2 separate regions of the Homo sapiens genome follow, and region 1 is linked to region 2. Evidence: promoter capture Hi-C in human tissues and cell types (Jung and others, 2019). All regions are on one chromosome and are shown on one strand. The core of a region is centred on a gene start or on the middle of the fragment in contact, and the rest is flanking DNA. Distances in the headings are between cores, read along the strand shown.

Region 1 (4,142 bases), core at 579-3,078, 600 kb after region 2:
AAGACAAAATGGAAACTACACCTGGGGACTGATGGCGTCATGCAGGCAGACTGTCAATTCCCCATTGAGATGCACGGAGGAAGCCCTCTCTTCCTCCACCATCTCTCAGACTCTCCCAACCTCCAGGGCAGAGACTCTGTATAGCTTTTAAACACCACATCTCCAGAGCTGGGAAATCCATGGTGCCATAGTTCACGGTCTTGGGTCCCCATATCACTGTGAGCCATGTTCTTCCCAGGACCTGAGCCTGCTGTCCACCCATGAGCAGCTAGAGCGCAACCTCTTCCCCATCCAGGTGGAAGCAAGCCCACAAGCTCTCTCTGTTGAGATGTCCTCAGCACCCAAGCCTTGCTGGTCCAACTGCCCATCAGCCCCAGACGCCATGTGGTCAAAAGAAGTGGACACCCTGGAGTTGAACATGGAGGAGAGGGAGAATTGTTTAGGTCATGATGGTCCCAGAATCCTCCTCCTGCTTTCCGCAATCCTTCTGAAGAGACCTGAATTCAAATTTTCATTGTTCCCTTTTAGGATCTTTGTTTCAACAAATGCCAGCCAAATACCAAGCCCAGTGCTGAGGACACAACATTGAATAAATCAGGGATGAGTCCTTCCTTCTAGGAATGTTTACTCCAAAGGGGAAATAATTGTCCATGTGATCTAGCTCTAATTACAGAGTGTTGTGAATGGGCAAATAAAGGCTGTGGTGGAGGGCAGTGTTGCTGATTCATATTTCTGCCCTCACTTTCTGTACCCACCTTGTTACAACAGAACTTCCGTCCATGTTATCTGTACACTAAAGGTGTCCATTTCATTCCATCTCATCCTTGGACAACGTTTAACAAGTTGCATGTGAAAAAAGGTGGCTGAGATGATGGAAAATCTAGAATTCAGGTGATCTGATGATTGGCTGAGAGTACTGATGATTGGCTGAGAGCACTAATGATTGGCTGAGAGCACTGATGATTGTCTGAGAGCACTGATGATTGGTTGAGAGCACTGATGATTGGTTGAGAGCCCTGGTGATCTTCTGTCAAAGAATCAAGGGAGGGAAGTAAACAATTACTTTCTTCAAACATTGAATGACTGTCCCACAGCAGGGGAATTAATAACCTCTAGGAATCCCCTGGAAGGAAAAATAGGAAGAGGTAAGTGAAGGCAGCACGGAGAGACTCCAGTACTTTACCTCAATAGGGCAAGACTTGGAAATGTGTTATCCAGCAATGCAAGGGGCTGCCTTGGAAAGGCGAGCTCCTCATCTTTAGGAATGTTCAAATATTTATCCAACGGCACCCTTAAAAGGGACCTGAACACAGCAGACAGGGCAGGAGAAAAAGCCAGGAAGAACTGGGAGTTGAGAAGTTTGTTAGGGATTTGGTGTCTGAGAAATGAGAGTATTGGGCAGTGAAAAGGGGTAAGAGAAGTGTGGCCAGGGTTGCCAAGTGTGTCTCCTTCAAAGAGAAGCGTGGAAGGAATAGAATTGTTTTTCAGTTTTATCTTGCCATGTCCTAGATAATAGCTAAGTTTCCTGAGATCAAAAGCAGTCATGGCTTTTTTCTTCCAAACTTTCTTTGTTTCTATTTTCTCTGGTCTACCTAAAGTAAAACAACAGTAAACAATAGGATCTGGCCAGGCACAGTGGCTCACACTTGTAATCCCAGCACTTTGGGAGGCTGAGGCAGGCAGATCATTTGAACCCAGGAGTTCCAGACCAGGCTGGGCAACAAGGCGAAACCCTGTTTCTACTAAAAATACAAAAATTATCTAGTTGTGGTGGTACACACCTGTAGTCCCAGCTACTCAGGAGGCTGAGGTGGGAAGATCACTTGAGCCAAAGAGGTCAAGGCTTCCGTGAGCCATGATCCCATCACTGCACTCCAGCCTGGGCAACAGTGAGATTAAAAAAAAAAAAAAAAAAAAAAAAAAAAAAAAAACGAAAGAAAGAGAGAGAAAAGAATCTGAGAGAAGCCACTTTCTACCTTCCTTTCTTCCTCTTAAAACCTCCAGTCCTGAAACATATGATATGTTATGAAAATATCGATTCATCTCAGCTTTTCCTTAAGTTGCTTGTACTTATAGAACTGTACCTGTCACCCTGCTCAATAAAGATTTGATGATTGAATTAAAAATAAGTTCCAGCCGGGCGCAGTGGCTCACGCCTGTAATCCCAGCACTTTGGGAGGCCAAGGTGGGTGGATCACGAGGTCAGGAGTTCAAGACCAGCCTGGACAACATGGTGAAACCCCATCTCTACTAAAAATACAAAAAAAAAAAAATTAGCTGGGCCTGGTGGCACATGCCTGCAATCTCAGCTACTCGGGAGGCTGTGGCAGGAAAATTACTTGAACTCGGGAAGCAGAGGTTGCAGTGAGCCAAGATTGTGCCATTACACTCCAGCCTGGGTGACAGAGCGAGACTCTGTCTCAAAAAAAAAAAAAAAAAAAAAGTTCCAGGCCGTAATAGTCTGTCCTGTGTATCAACATATGTCTCAGCAATAACACTGGGCAGGGGATCTTAACAGAAAACTCTGTAGCCACATGGAGTGGAGCTATGTTTTATCAATTTGATTATAATTTAGAGGGGTTAAAACTTGGGGGGGTACCTGACTCTTTGGAGTTATGTAGTATTTACTGTATGTTCTGGCACTTCCTAGAGCTGTTCCTTCTCCCTTGATAGTGTCGCCCAGCGCTGTATGTTCCTTGGAGTATGCTGTCATCTAGTTGTGTGAGAGCCACATTACAAGCCTATTTGTCACATGCTTACATAATGTTTATTTTTCCTTATACTAATATTACCTCCACTGAATGTTAATTCGTTGTAGCGTTTCTTTTGATAGGTTCGACCTTTTCTTCTGAGATGTATCTTCAATTTCAGGACACAATTTAGAGGCTTAAAGGTATCTTTGATGCTTTGACAACAAACCTCATGTAAACTTCCACTTTTTTTATTTTTCGTGCTTTGGTAGAAGAGCTGTTCAGATAAGAATTGGGATTCTTGCCGGGCGTCGTGGCTCACGCCTGTAATCCTAGCACTTTGGGAGGCCGAGGCGGGTGGATCACGAGGTCAGGAGATCGAGACCATCCTGGCTAACACGGTGAAACCCCGTCTCTACTAAAAATACAAAAAATCAGCCGGCCGTGGTGGTGGGCGCCTGTAGTCCCAGCTACTCGGGAGGCTGAGGCGGAAGAATGGCGCGAACCTAAGAGGTGGAGCTTGCAGTGAGCCGAGATCGCACCACTGCACTCCAGCCTGGGTGACAGAGCGAGACTCCATTTCAAAAAAAAAAAAAAAAAAAAAAAAGGATTGGGATTCTTGGGTCTCATCCCTGCAAATTGAGTAAGTCTCTCAGCCTCAGTTTTATCATATTACAATTAAGCAATTAAGCGCTTAACTGTGCTAGCTGTTTCCAATGTCATTACATTAACCAACTGGTATAAAAATAAAATCGTCTGGGAAGAATTACTTACCGTACAGATCTGGGGCCCAATCCCCAGAGTTTTGACTCAATGTCTTTGAGAACCACTGGGCTAACTCGTTTCTTTCCACTGATTGAAATTTTAAATGGTTAAAGCAGCCTGGCTTTCTCAAGAAAAGTACACGGGCGCCACCTAGTGTCCCTGAAAAGTTCGTACAGCTCACACATCAGATGTATTGAAGCTTTAACTTGGCAGGGTTACCAGTTATAAATGCAATCGAATTTGCATTTTAATTAGTGAAGCCGATTATGTATTGAGATAAACAAGTGTTGTGCCATCGACTCACTTGGAATAATTAGTTTGATCTCACTTTTGATTTATGACTTGGCATTTTTCTGGACTCAGTTATGCCTCTCAGGCTTATTCTGTCTGAATCACACACAATTGCAATAGTCCAGCTTTTTGCAATTATCCGTATTTTTGTACAACTCCAGAAAAACCAAAGTGAAAGAATAAACAAAAAGATTTTCCCAGAAGAAAATGGCAATTTCTAACTTCTTCCTATGCCTACTGGCATTGTGGGACAGACTGCCAAGGAATTCAACCACATTCCACCCACTACCCACCCCTGGACTTCTATCCTTAGACTCTCACTGCCCCCAGAATAGGGAAGGTTATCAGGCCCCTAAGGAAGGACGCATGCTTTGCTTGGCTCTCTGGGCCTTGTCT
Region 2 (4,123 bases), core at 741-3,240:
GTATGACTATCTAAACACAATCCAAGTTCTCATTTGGGGTCTTTTAAGGGGATCATGATAGCGTTTCTTTAATGCATTGTATAGATTATTACATATGACGCTGTTACTCTTTTTTGCTAATGACTCAAATGGCATAATTTTGACTCTGGTCATTTTTATGCCAGTTTTATCTACATCAAACAGAGAGAAATACCCCTGATGACTTTTGCTCTCTCAGATGCTCCAAGCCTCAGAGTAGAAAATGGTTAAAGTAGTTATTACCACCTCAGCAAAATCCCGCAGTGCCATAAGAGAAATTGCAGTAGACCTTTAGGTCAGAGTTAAGTTCTAGTTTAACACCATGGTTCTTTACCTGCATTACCCTGAAGGACACACTTGGATTCTCCTGAGGAAGGCCAGTCTTAATATTGTCAAAATCTAAAGCTATCAGCCTGCGATAACCAGTGCTGATAGCAAATACTTCCAGTAACTCTGAAACCGTGGCCAAAGAGGTTAAATCTATTCAGTACAGGACCAGTAAAATTTCTCAGATATGTGTTTTTGTGGATGAATGCTTGTATTCATGCCTGATTGCAAGGATGGGGGAAGAAGGAAAAGGAAGAGTGATTCATTCTTAAAGTTGATTCTGCTTAGTTCAGCTAATCTCACATTTTTATCAAATGGAAACATAGAGAGAGATGTATCATCCCTATAAACAGATAGCATTGGCTTCTTCATATATACAGTACTTATGCTCACCCAAGATCTGTAGACAGATCTACTCTGTGTTAAAAAACAAAACCAAACAAAAACCTTGATACCCTGCTGGAGGATAAATCCATATTTTTTAAAAAATGTATTTATTTTCTACGTAAAATAAGGGTCAGAGGGCAACACAGAAGATTTCCACAAGTAGACTATTTTGTTGAAGCTATGCAGGAGGTGAGGAGGGGAACAGGAAATTGTCTGCAAAGGAGTCTCTGTGAGGAAGATTTATTTCTTTCTTGTTTTCTTTTAAGCTACTATGACTCCTCTATTAAGGGTCTCCGTAAGACCGGGGTCTCAGGGAGACAATTTGGTCTCCAGCCCTGGCACATCCAGCCCCGGCCAGGCATTTCTGCCGCAGGCAGATGAGGCGCTGCGGCCGGACCGCTGTCCCCGGTGCTGAAAGGTCGAGGGCGCCCGCGCGAGCCCTCGGTGTTGCTATCCAGGGTGCTGAGCGCGGGCCGCCGCAGTCCCCGAAGCCAGCCCACCCGCGCCAGCCCTCCGCAGAGCCCTCCCACCCGGCACGACCCGCCCGCCTCCCGCCAGCCTGCAGTTGACGTGGAGCAGGCGGCATAAATCAAGTCCGCGGGGCATGGAGGCTGCTGTCGCTGCAGCAGCTCAGCTTGCCCGGGGCGGGAACTCCCCCTTTCTCCTTTCGCCTCCCCAGCACCCACACCCTGTCTCCCCCTTAATTCTTCCCTGGATAATAGCACCCTAACGACAACAGTCATAATAATAGGGTTAGAACGACAGGGGAGGAAAACTCAACAGCCTAAATATCTCTGAAAACTGCATCGCAAAATGGAAGAAAGAGGGGGTCCCACTACTGTTTCAAAAGAGTAAGTTATTATTCGGTACGTACCCTCGCTCTTCCTCCCCGTCGCTCCATTTGCAGGGCTCCCGTTTCCCTTTTCCCCAGCAGCTCACCTCGAAAACACTTTATAAAGCCCCCACCAGACGTGCACACACGGAATACCGCACCCTAAGTGCACCAATACTTGTATTTACCCAAGCCCACTCGGACTGCCCAGCTGCTGTCCCTTCTGGGTATGCAGCCATCCCGAGCCAGAGCCACGACCTGGGGAGGGGGGTTCTTACCTGGGCTTCTCGGGAGGGTTGTGTTCTCCGGGCCTCTGCAGGTTGCAACTGTGGTGGAGCCGCCGAGCAGGGAGGGAAGGAAAGACAGCGCCTGACCTCCCCGAGGTTTCGTCTTCAATGCAACGTGAGCTCTGCCCTCATCAAAGATGGCCGTCCGTTTTGACGTCAGCAGCTTTTAATAGCCGCCCAGCGAGGGGCGGGAGGAAGTGGGGGCGGGGCACGGCGGGGGCGGGGGCGGGGCCCGGGCTGCGGCGCGCTTGACTCGGTTCCCAGTGCGCTGGCCTGCAAACCTGCGTGTTTTCACCTTCTATAAACACCCGCACGGGGCGACTCTTATGACTCCATTTTAACACTCGGTCTTGGGCAAACGCGTTCATCCCGCAACTGCATTCCTGATGTTCTTTGGTGTGTGTGCGTGTGTGTGTACATATGTGTATATGTGTGTGTATGTATATATGTATGTGTGTGTATATTTTATAATACATGTATAATATATGTATAATTTGTGTGTATGTGTATATATTCCCCCCCACCCCCACCCCCACCCCCTTTCAGTGGAATCTGTGGTTGAGTCATCTAAGGAGAGGGGAAGGCAGAGGAGGGGTAAAAGGTAGTGATGGGAGGGGTGGGGGAAATTTCAGCGGCGATTTGTTTTCTCCGAAGAGGGTCCGTAGGGGCATCCCCGTCCACCCTCGCCAGCTCCATATATGGCCAGGCTACGTGGGTTGCTATTTTTATGAGTGATTGCTTCATGTTATCGAAGCAGCGTCGAGGGCTTGTGGCTCTCGTTGCTGTGGTCAGCCGGGCAGCGAGGCTGGCGCACGTTATTTTGAACTACGTCAGAGCCAGGCTCTCTGAGCTGTTGCAGGAGTCGGGGGAAGGAGAAGGGAAGCGGAGTTAGCCCAGCCAGCGTGGGTTTGCAAGGACTCGAGGCTTGAAGTTGAGTTGTTTGCCGAGGGCAAAAACGGATGACTCTGCTTTCGGTGGAATTTGCAGTCGGTGCTGGGGTTTCATGCTGGGTGTCTTAGGGGTACCCCACGGAGGCACAGACGCCCCGAGGGAACCGTCCAAACGGCCGGGAGGAGGTGGGGGATTCAGAGCAAGGACGGCTGGGACACGGCCGAATCTGGGGGTTCACTCAGTGCGCAAACCCCGGGGTACCCGTGCAGGCTGCCTCGGGGGGCCCTCGGATGCTCAAATCAGGGCGGGGAGACAAAGGCTACTTGTGCTGGTCGTATTAGAGATTAAAAGTGATAATTATAAAGCAACAACCCTAACTGTCCTCCCTGGCCGTGCCCGGGCCCGGGAAGGGGGTGGTGCGCGGATCGCTCGGCGGTGGCAGCCTCCCGGATGATTCACAGGTGTTGGGGAGGCTGTCGCGGGGCTCTCCGCAGGGAGGGAGGGCTGGGGAGCGCGTGGGAGGTGGGGGACCTCGTCTGAGGAACTGTTTGTACTTTTCCGGGAAGGATGCGATTAGAAGTCGTGCCTCGCAATGTTAAAACTTGATGGCCTCTTTTAGGCTATGGAAAATCCTTGTCTCGCTTAGGAGAAACCATTTAGAGCTGGGTTCGGAAAAGCGGCGTACAACCTCTCCCCTTGCACCCTCGCCCCCCACCCCCGCCCCACCACACACACACACACACACACACACACACACACACACACATCCCTAGCTGGCCTGAGAGCCAAGCTTAGGCAATAATACGGCCTTTGATTGCGCTCCATTGCGGAGGGAGGGAAGCGGGGTAGGGGGAAGGGAAGAAGAGTTGTGAAGGCGCTGCGTTTAGAAAGAGACGGGTTGTTAAGAATTTAATAAAGGATACCTTTAATCGAAATTAGTAGACATAATTGTTTCTTAAAGATTCCCTGGCCTGAAGGCTTTTTTTTGACGTATTGATGTTTTTGCCATAATAATTAACAGTGTTTGGATGTTAATTAAAGCCAAATTCCTAAAAAAGGCATGTTGCTGAAATTTGTTTACTTAAATATTCATTAAACATTTAAGATTGCCATACAATAAAGAAGAAAATCTGCAAAGTCCTTAGATACTTAATTGCCAATAAAAGTCTCTTGAGTATGGCTCTTACTTTCATTATAAAGCAAGTTGGAATAGGGGGAAAGGGGTTTGAATGCAATGTACTGCAAAATCCTTTGTAGTCAGAATTTTTTCCAAAGTGTGACACTTTAAAAAAAGGCAGCATGCGGAAGTTTGAAGAGAAAAAAAAACCTGCAGAGGGAGAAAAAAAAATGTGTGTATGGCCCTCAGACTAGAAATCATTCA

The links. Contacts are between HindIII fragments. The study calls those that stand out against the background at their distance.
Region 1: a fragment that was not itself captured here is called in contact with the fragment with the promoter of SNAP25 in region 2 in 2 of the 25 tissues and cell types used here (dorsolateral prefrontal cortex and hippocampus).

What each region holds. Positions count from the first base shown.
Region 1 is chr20:9,616,705-9,620,846 of GRCh38, reverse strand. The region is part of intron 3 of PAK5 (p21 (RAC1) activated kinase 5); the gene reads left to right. LOC101929348 (a long non-coding RNA gene) reads right to left here and starts at 840. Exons shown (of 3, transcript XR_244242.4): 1 at 756-840. The HindIII fragment of the contact is 7,662 bases long and covers 1-4,142 here.
Region 2 is chr20:10,216,697-10,220,819 of GRCh38, reverse strand. SNAP25 (synaptosome associated protein 25) reads right to left here and starts at 1,990. Exons shown (of 8, transcript NM_130811.4): 1 at 1,843-1,990. SNAP25-AS1 (SNAP25 antisense RNA 1) reads left to right here and starts at 1,314. Exons shown (of 5, transcript NR_040710.1): 1 at 1,314-1,583. The HindIII fragment of the contact is 5,357 bases long and covers 1-4,123 here.